Regions from separate parts of the Homo sapiens genome. Here region 1 is linked to region 2. The links are contacts of gene promoters, found by promoter capture Hi-C in human tissues and cell types (Jung and others, 2019). All regions are on one chromosome and are shown on one strand. Each heading gives the region's core, a stretch centred on a gene start or on the middle of the fragment in contact. The rest is flanking DNA. Distances are from core to core; before and after follow the strand shown.

What was found. The method cuts DNA at HindIII sites, captures the fragments that hold promoters and counts their contacts. A contact is called where the count stands out against the background at its distance.
Region 1: a contact is called between a fragment that was not itself captured here and the fragment with the promoter of TNPO1 in region 2, in 1 of the 25 tissues and cell types used here (dorsolateral prefrontal cortex).

Annotation. Positions count from the first base shown.
Region 1 is chr5:71,780,674-71,785,874 of GRCh38, reverse strand. No RefSeq gene overlaps it. Among named protein-coding and RNA genes, the nearest start is that of CARTPT, 64 kb to the right of the region's middle. The HindIII fragment of the contact is 4,053 bases long and covers 879-4,931 here.
Region 2 is chr5:72,813,792-72,819,080 of GRCh38, reverse strand. It overlaps TNPO1 (transportin 1), which reads right to left and starts at 2,420. Exons shown (of 25, transcript NM_002270.4): 1 at 2,329-2,420. The coding sequence starts at 2,343. It overlaps TNPO1-DT (TNPO1 divergent transcript), which reads left to right and starts at 2,533. Exons shown (of 9, transcript NR_186518.1): 1 at 2,533-2,928. RefSeq lists enhancers at 1,644-1,693, 2,774-2,853 and silencers at 2,154-2,373, 2,414-2,513. The HindIII fragment of the contact is 3,854 bases long and covers 980-4,833 here.

The DNA.
Region 1 (5,201 bases), core at 1,656-4,155, 1.0 Mb after region 2:
CTCTCTACACTCGCATGTCTGCCTTGCATAAAGTTAGCTCTCAGTGCATGTTGGTTGAATCGAACTAAGAGGAGAGAGTGAGGAATTTGAACTTCTCTCCAGCAGAGTCACCTAGAGCCAGTCGAGGTTCATTTCAGAACCTGTACCCTAACTGGGACAGGAAAGACTGTAGCTGGAGGAAGAAGAGAGGCTATGGTTTTCTAGAGCATCATTCTGTATGTTAAGTCCAAACAATACTAACGTTTTTTTAAAAAACTCCCATTATATATAATAAATTCTTAGCATACTTTGGGGGTGGGGCTGGGAGGGATGATTTACTAACCATTTTTTGCTCATGCTTAATAAATATTTCCTGAAAGTATACAAGTCAAGAATCCAATTCAAGAAATGAGAAAAAAGAGCATCTTCCTCAAAAAAAAGAAAAAAAATTTTTTTAAATCAATGAAATTCATTTTGTACTGTTTACAATTTTATTGCTGCATCCTAGGCACTGACACATAATAAATGCTCAATAAATATTTATTGAACAAAAATAAATCAATAAACAAATATTTCTTGAATAGATATTTACATAGAAATGAGGCACCAGAGCAAGTGCAAATATCCCCTCAGACTCCCTGTCTTCCTCAATCCAAATCCAACCACCTCCAAGAAACAGGGCTTTCCCCAACACTGGCATTTTCATTTTTCTGAATTTCTAAAGCCATAGGTTTCTGCTTAATTATACCTTTATTTACTTAAAAAATATTTATAGAGCACTATGTGCCAGTCACCATTCCAAGCACTCATATATATCTCATTTAATCCTTAAACAATTCCATGAGTGGGTATTAATATTACTAATATTATTATCTTCAACTTACTGATGAGAAAATTGAGGCATGAAAGAGCTAAATAACTTGGCCAAGATCACACAGCCAGTGAGTACTGGAGTCAGGATTTATCTATTTTTATTTTATTTTATTTTAGAGACAAGATCTTACTCTGTTACCTAGGCTTGAGTACAGTGGTACAATCACAACTCACAGCAACCTCGACCTCCTGGGCTCAATCAATCCTCCCACCTCAGCCTCCCAGGTAGCTAGGACTACAGGGTCACACCACCATACCAGGATAATTTTTTTTATTTTTTTGTAGAGACAGGGTCTCACTTTGTTGCCCAGGTTGTTCTCAAACTCCTGGGCTTAAACCGTCTTTCTGCCTCAGCCTCCCAAGGTGGGTAAGCCCCAGAATCTGTTTTTGTGACCACTATTCTGGGCCACTACCACCCTTGCCATGATTGATCTTCAGTTGTTTCATGCCAACCTGGGCTCTCTCGTTGTCCTGTGAGCCTCCTGACAGGTGGGACCACAACTCCTGCTGCTTTTATCACATTCCCCCATCATATTTATTCAATAAATGTTTATTAAGCACCTCCTTTGTTTCTGGCATGTTCTAGGTTCCAGGAATACAGCAATGAACCAGACTGTCCAATCCCCTCCTCATGGAGTTTACATTCCAATGAGAGAAAAACAGACGATACCCAGGCAAACAAGATACTTAGAGATCATTACAAGTGCGATAAAGGAATAAAACAGAGTGAGGAGTCAGGAGGCCTTGAGGCAGAGGGAGCCTCCTTACATCATGGGGTGAGAAAGGGCTGTCTGCGCTGAGCCCTGAGGAAAAAGAGCCAGCCAGTGAGGAGTTAAGGGAAGAGAGCTCAGGTGCAAAGAGCCTGAGGCAGAAATGGGCTTGGCAAGTTCTGGAAGGAGAAAGATGCCTGGAGGGTGACCAAGCAGGATAGGAGAGGGGAACAGAGCTCAGAGCTTGCAGGCCTGGGGAAGTTTGGATTCTGCACACGGTGTTGAGAGAAGCCACAGGACATGACACAGCGCTCACATGACACAGTGAACACTAAACGACTACCACATCTCTATACCTGGGTGCCTCTCTGCACACCAAGCTACCTGGAACCACTGAGCACTGCCTCCGGGGTGCCCCGTTACCCCCAAAATTGCTGTTCTAGTAGGGTGCCGGGGACAACCTTGTGGGCCTGGAGTCAGATGGTCTGAGTTTCAATCTCTACTCTTCTGATCACACGTTGAATGACTTTAGGCAAATTATTGAACCTAAGCTTCAGTTTTCTAGCCTGAAAAAAGTACATCATAAAGGACATATCCCAGATTACTGTAAGGGTTAAATGAGCGGATAGGTACCACATGCTCAGTCGTTCTTATGTTGTGGTGGTGATGTTTATTAATCGTGCTAGGAGTTCAGCCCTGAAGTGTAAACACTTCCTAGCAGAACGTGCTGTAATTTCTGGCATCAGCTATACCGTTTTCTGGGCTAAGAGCAACAGATCAGTGAAAAGGGTCTGAAAAGAAGAAAAAAAAAAACGGTATGATACAACACGTCTACTATTTCCCAAATAACATGACCTCTACTTTCTATTTTTTATGCAACACGCTGGAAAGTTCTAATGCATTCAAAATCCCTCTCCAAGCTCTCTCTGGTTTCTTATTAGCATATGTCCAGAGACAACATCAGTCGTGCGACCCTCTGAGGAGAATCGATGACTGAAAATGTAGCGCGCCATGACCAGAAACTCAATTCCCGGCCAGATGAAAAAAGAAGCCCATTTAACCCAAGGAATGTCAAGGCCAGGGTTTCTGTTCAGATATCCTGAGAAACGAGTTACATGGAAACGCCGAGACGGAGGCCTCCATCCCCACGCCGAGCATGTCTTTTCTTTGGTGCGCCAAGGAACCCATTAAGAACCAAGCCCTGGCGCCATCTCCTGGCAGTCTCGAAAACTGAAAAGCAGACGTTTAACACAAGGGACCCCTCCCTCTCCTTGACAGAAATTAAGTTCGGGGGAAAAAAACTGGTAATTTCATGGGAACTTCTGTGTTTTCAACCTCCTGTTAAATATTTGAATCGAGAAGAGCAGATGGTAGCAGTCTCAGCCATTTACAGTCCCCACAAGGGACTGTCCCTGCTATACCGCCACTTCCTTTGTTTCTGTAAGAGCTTGTCACTCAACAGAGGTACCAGAGATCAGAGCCAGCACATTTATCTGCAGTAGCTGGTGCTTGGCCCCACTCCCACAAGTGCACCCAGCATTACCTGAGGATAGTCCTCTGCCCAAATTAACATCTTCAAATACATCTACTTTCTCAAAATACTTTACACAAAGAAAGCATGCATGAAATCTGCCTTCAAAGAGGTGGGCTCCAAACTCACTGCAAAGCTGCAAGCCCAAGTTCACCTCAGTACCCAGAATCTCATGATAAGGATCAGTTTGGGGTCTTGCTCTCCCTAGGGAAAGACCAGGTGGCACCTTTGCCTTCACAGCCACTTTCACTTTCCAAGGCTTTGCCTGGCCCGGGGAGTTTCCGCAGTTAGCGTTCAGCTTCATACTCACCATAAAGCCAGGTAACTTGGCATCATTAGACACAGAGCCTGAAATGACTAGAAAAAATAAATCTGCAGGGTTGCTGACCAAGGAGTGAACCAAAATCCCCAGGAATTTGGTCTTATTCCTCTGGAAGGACAAGCAGGGTGGTTTTGAAAACAGGGAAGCCATTGGCTGGGCTGGTTCCTCCCTGCTTTACTCAGGGATATATATTTACTTATTTAAAATGCATTGAGCCCTTTCTGCTTGGCAGATAATGTAAAAAGCACTTTACCAGCAGTTCTTTATTTAATCTCAACAACAACCCATACAACTGGTATCATTTTTATTTCCATTTAACAGATAGAAAACAGAGAGAACTTTACATAACTTGCCCAAGATCTTAGAGCAAATAAATGGTAGAGAAAGGATTCAAGTTTATGCATCCTGATTCTTCTTAACCACATAAGAAAGTATCTCTCAGAGACCCAGGACTTGGGATTTTCATTGGCACTTCTGAAAACACAGCCACTCCTCATGTTTGTAGGATGAATGAAATGGGATAATTTTCCCTAAAGAAAAAAGGTGCCCTCCATAGCCCTTCGAATGTGTGTGTGTGGTGGGGGAGGAGGAGATGCAGTAGCATCTGGCCCCGAATTTTAGTCCTTCTTGAACAGCATATACCCCATGTAAATTCTTTCCCCTGAGTCTTCACACGCTTGATCCAGTTACTGAACCGTAGTCCTCATCCCCAGCCCATTTTTTAGGACCTTGTCCTTAATTTTCTCATATCATTCATGCCTGATGACTGATTTCTCATGGTTATTTGCAAAAGCACAAATACAAATGCTATTAACTGGTAATAAAACAAGCCAGCCATTTCTAAAACTCAGTGCTGGTGACTGCTTAGTGGTCTTTGGGGACCCTGGGTTTGCCAGATCCCACTAAAGCAAACATTGCTTTCGATACAAACTTGCCAAGCGTGATTTGTAGTGATTCGAGACCAGGACAAGGCAGTACACAGTCAGGTATGGGGCGGCCGGGTATGGGTAGTGAGTTCTACTCATGCTCAGAAATAGAAATGGTTGGCATGGTGGGAGCAGTCAGAGGGGAAGCCACTGCTCCTGCCCCTGCTCTCTTTATACCTTGCCTGACCTCAGTATCTGATGTGTAAAATGACAGAGCGCAGTTGATAACAAATCCCTTTTGAGCACTGACCATAATTCAGGCACTCTGTGGTCCTGGTGATACAGTGTTGAACAAGACAATGATTTTGTCCTAATGGATTTTATAGTGTGGTGGGGAAGAAGGGGAAGGCAGATGATAAACAGATAAATAGATAAGTTACATGGTAGGTAGTGATACAGGCTACAAATAAAAGTAAGTCAGGGTAAAAGGATAGTGAGTTGCAGTGGGGTGCCAGAAAGGGAGGCTAGGGAGATCTCTTTGATGAAATAACATTAGAGTAGGGGTGTGGATGAAGTGAGGGAGCAACCCAAACTCAAAGCTGTGGGAAGAGCATTCCTGGAAGAAGCAGCAGGGAGGAAAAGGCCCTGAGATAGGAACGACGCAATGTGTCCGATGAGCAGCAAGGAGACCAGTGTGGCTGGGTCACCAGGAGTGTTGGGGAGTGGCAGGAAATGAGGAGCACCCAGGAGCCAGAGCATGGAGGGCCTGGCAGGCCATGGGAAGGAGCTCAGTTAGGAAGCCCCTGAAGGCTTTAGAGTGTGTGCCAGGCAGGGCGTGGTGGCTCATGCCTGTAATCTCAGCACATTGGGAGGCCGAGGCTGGTGGATCACTTGAGCTCAGTTTGAGACCAGCCCGGGCA
Region 2 (5,289 bases), core at 1,171-3,670:
CCTCTTCTCTTTATAAATGACCCAGTCTCAGGTATTCTTTTACAGCAACACAATACGGATTAAGGCACCACTCTTGCAAACATCTGTCTTCCATTGTGAAGCTCATCCCTTGTACAACCCAGAAGACTCCTTCACCTGCCAACACTCAACAGATTTACCATGGCAATGGCTGAATAGGGTCAACTAAGAAAAATCCTCAACCTCCAGGGGAATTTCACTGTTTCTGATCCTTCCTCTTTGAGGATGGCATTGTTCGCCATTGTTTTTGAAAACCTCATCAGTTTCTTTGATTCTCTCAGCTTTCTCATCCTTTTGCTGGTAAACCAAACTGTTTTGAGGGGGGAAGATATCTTTTTAGCACCAATATGTATTCAAATATCAATCTCAGGAAAAAATATCACAATTTATACCCTGGCCAATAAAAAGAACTCCCCCACTTACTGCTGTGCTCCTCTCTGCAGTTTATATTTGATAAATTCATTTATTTCATTACCTATGTCACTTGGTTTGACGTCACTTTATAACCAGGTTTCTTTTCTTAAAAAAACATTTGCAGAATCCAACATGGTTAAAATTCAAGAAATTCTTCTAAATACAGATGTTTACATTTCAATGTAGTAGCTCATTTACAACATTTAGAAAAACTGAGTTCATGGAATGGCTTTAAAATTATAAATAAGCAAAACTACAGTCATAAAAACAATGAATACAATAAGAAATGTTGATATTGGAAAAGCTTACAACTAGAATCATGTATTTTTACAAAAATCTTATTCTGCTCACATTATATAATGGTAATAAAGCCACTGAGAGTTGAGGTAGAAGTGCAAACAAGATTTTTATAGATATTTCAGTGGGAGGAATTTAATAATTCCTGACTAGGAGAAAGATGCAGCCACATCAAGGGTGGCGGCCCCTTTTAGGAAAAAGAAAACAGAACACTAGTACTTCATTAGGCTCACGTTAAATTGCATGAAGTAAAAATCGTACTGCCAAGCTAGTATAAATTTATGCACTGCATAGCTAGAGACTAAAAAAGATATCTGCACCTACAAACTATTGTTTCCCTTTTGTGGTTGCTAATTTTCATCCTGGCACAGCCTTCTCTAGGAACAACTACGGTGCCAGGTAAGGTGAAAGTGGAAAACAGATCCTTTCCCAAAAAACGGAACTTTCCCCTTTTCCACTAAACATAGCTTCTTCACCACTCTAACATGAAAGCTTTGATATAACAGGGAAACTTAAAAAGCTGCAGGAACTTTTGTTATTCTAAAAGTGAGTAGTACGTCAGGACAGCCATTTTACAACCTTCATTTCCAAACACCTATTACACCATACATCTTGCAATTTTAAAAGTATCTTTTCTTTAGGGTAAAAAAAGTACCACTTACACATTCATCATTTAAGTCATTACTGTTTCAAAGGACAGTTATTAAGCTTCTTAATACAGCTGTCAAAATCAATTTGTAGATAGCCTCCAATTTCAAATTTCTACATTTACATCTACTGATAGACCATCCTGATTAGCGATTAAGATAACAGACTTAAACTCTAAGCAATCCTTGCAAAATCCAGTTGATTTTTAAAATCAGTAAGCAACACGCGATCATTTTTAAAGAAAGTCATTCCGAAAATAGCTTGATTGTGGTGGCCAATCTGCTCCTCAGCAGCTGTTCCCTGTTGCTTGTACGCATGGGAGTGGAGGTAGAAGGGCAAAACCCACAAGCCCACGCAAAACTCGTACAGTCACAAACATTATGTAAACATGTCGTGAGGCCAAGAGGCCCCAAGGAGAAAGAACCGCCGGGAGGAAGAGAACGGCAAGCTGCATGTAAGGACGATGGGCGCTGTGTGCGGACGCAGGAGACCCGGGCAGAGGGGCCCAGGGCGGGACAAAGACTGGCCCATCTCGGGCAGCGCCGGCCAGCGCCCAGAACCAGTGAAAGGCAGCCGTCCCGGGGCAGCCGACTGCAGCACTCAAGGGCCCTCAAACGCCACAGCTTAACAGGCGAGGCAAACGCTCCCCTGAATGTAAGACCCTTCCCTTCCCGCCCCTTGTAACGGGCTCCTGCCGCCCCTAACGGGATCCTCGGACGCTTGAGGAGCCGCCGTCGCCTGCTCCCTACCCGGGTCCCGCAGGGCGCCTGGGCGGGCAGCTGTTGGGGTTAGAACCGCGCCGCCGCTGCCTCTCGGCTTCAAACGGCCGGGCAGGCGCCGAGAGAGCGGGCGAGCCCGGCGTCTCTCCCGTAGGCGCGTCAGGCAGCTCGGCGCTCCCAGCCTCCGTTCCCGCCCCTGCAGTTCGGGGCCGCGCACCCTCACGCCACCTACCCGGTCCCACACCATCCCAGACGCCTCGGGCGCTCGGGCCTTCGGCCGAAGCGGCACTGCCTCCTGTCCGGGGCCTGAAATGGCTGCGGAACAAAGAGAATCTGGGCTTCACCGAGCGCCGGTCCGATTGGCCGGGGGGCGGAGCCCGCGGCGGGAACATTCGGCGGCGGTCGCCTTGGCAACGGCGGCGGGGCTAGGAAAATTGCTGCCTGGGTCGGCTGGGCCTGTGGGCCTGCGTCCGACAGCGCGCGGCCGTGCTTTCTAAGCGGGCTCGGCAGCACCAGACTTCACCGGCCCGGCGCGGGGCTCACAAGTGCTCGCACTCCCTGCGGCCGGCGCGCTGACCGGAGCCTCTGGGTCTCGCACGCAGCAGCTGCAGACGCTGCCCGGCGCGGTGGGGCTGTGAGCAAAACGGCCCGCCGGTGTGGTTGCCCAGACTGTGCTGGGCCCTCCTAGGTGGATGGCCCTGCCCCAGCCTAACTTCTGTACCCCAGCATAACCTCCAAAGTAACAGCCGTGCCCTGGGAGCCTGTTCAACACTGAACATATCCCACAATAACACTGTTCCAGCGTCGCTGGTAAAAAGCAGAAATGGCTTCGGTAGGTAGACGCCGGTGGATGGCTGCCCGCTTAGAACAAGATAGGCTTTTGACGTATGTTGTATCTGGCGTATAAACTACTATGTAATTAGAATTCAGTGATTTATAAAATGTTTACGCCTCCAGGTGTTCAATCCTATAAAACTGTAGTTTCTTGCTCTTAGAAATAACAAGCCTTTCTCTCCCTAACCTGCCATCATGAGAAATTAAAATGTCCTGTATTTTCTGTACGGCAAATGATTCAAAATGGGAGTGGTGGACGTTTTTATACCCAACTGCAACAAGGGTAATGAGATAAATATCAGTTTCCTTCCCTCAGATTATTCTTATATGTAAAATTTACTGTATAAAAATACTTAAAATTTGCATAGCTAGCTGATTTTTATTTTCTAAGGTGATGATGCCCGTGATAATATTCCTCACATGATCAGTGTGAGTAGAAATACCAGCAGTTCCGACTATCTTACTGGAAGTGCTGTATATATTTTGAAAATGTGTGACAGTTGTTGCCTTCCTGTCATAGTTTAGGTAAAATTACAGTACATAATACTAGAAAATGTCTAAATTTTTACTAAGGTAATTTATTTGTTCTTCTAAACGTGTTAACAATTTTCATTTGAATTACAGTCATTTTGCAGGAACAACTAGTTTATTTAACTTAAAATTTGAGACTAAAAGTACCATTTTTTAATCATTGGGAAATTGAACTTAGCAAGGGAAAATATAGATAACTAAAATATTCATGATTTCAACATGTTATAATATTAATTTGATAGTAATTGGATACAGTAGTGTATATCAAAAAGAGCCCCCCCCCCCAAATAGGAGTAGATTACCAAGAAAAAAATGTAATATAAACTTTTCTGAATGGTAGTTTATCTGCAGGAAAATATACCCAGAAAAAGTATATTTATCCAAATAACAAATGGCTTATTTCTGCATTTGAAAAGTTACATCGTGGACTAGGATCTATACAAATCAGAAGATGTGTAGTATTTGCATTCTACTTTGCTAAAGGAAAAAACACAAATATTTCTAAAATCCAAAAGATTAGCAAATAATGACAGATGTAAATACTACTGACTAAGCAATTAGTAGGAGTTCACTTGATTAATAGTTTGGAAATAGCTGAAATGAATTGAAGAAAAAGTAACATATTATTTAGCATAAGAGGATTTATTGGCCAAAACATTTTGAAAGAAAAAAATGTTGATTATCAGATGTTGTAAAATTGAGATTAAGCAAATTAAATATGTATTCTTTTGTAAAAATTAAAGTGAATGAAAATACTAATATAAAATAGTTCTGTTGAATAGAGATTCTTACACATGTAGCCTTTTTGTCTCTTCTAGGTCAAATTAAAAAAACATGTTTTAAACAGTAAATCTTATTAACAAGGATTTATTAACATGGCTTATTTTATTTTTCTTTGACAGTTTGCACATATAATAGCAGCTATCCAGTAGTATTTTCTCTTTATACCTAAATATGCTCATGTGGTAAAACTTTGAAGAATTATTAATAATTTTTAAATGACAAAAATGAAGTTAAAATTTATAAACTTTGTTTTTACCTTTAAAACATAGATATATTTAAAATTTCTGTATTAATTTTATTTTCTTAGGTGAAAAATTTACCAAGATAAAAATAAAAACATGTTAGAAGTTACAAAATAGCATCTGAGGGAGAAAACATACCTATAAGCTTTCACCTAGGAATGACAAGATGCTTATTTTGTCAGGTGTAGCATTGTTAAAACAAGTGTGGAGCTTGCAGGCAGAGGACCTATATGCAGATGCTGGCTTTACCATTTATGAATGCTTTTGGCTCAGTCTTTCTGAGCTTCACTTTCTTTTGTCTGAAACAAGATTAAGTAAGATAAGTTACATAAAGAACTCATTAGCAGAGTGCAGGGCAGGTTGTTAGAGGGCAATGAATGAAAGTATTACTAGACATTAATATAAATCAAAGATGTTTGAGAAGGAGGAATATTATTGAAAAAGTAAGTCTGGAAATTCAAAAATTGTTAAATAAATGTCTTTAATAGGCAATTGTTGGTGAGTATATGGAAACCTAGTAAGATAAGTAATTTTTTATATACAGGCAAGCTTCTAAAATAGAATAAGCCTGGGCGCAGTGGCTCACGCCTGTAATCCCAGCACTTTGGGAGGCCGAGATGGGCGGATTACCTGAGGTCAGGAGTTTGAGGCCAGCCTGGCCAACATGGTGAAACCTCGTCTCTACTAAAAATACAAAAATTAGCTGGGCATGGTGGCGGGCACCTGTAATTCTAGCTACTCAGCAGGCTGAGGCAGGAGAATTGCTTGAACCTGGGAGGCAGAGGTTGCGGTGAGCCAAGATC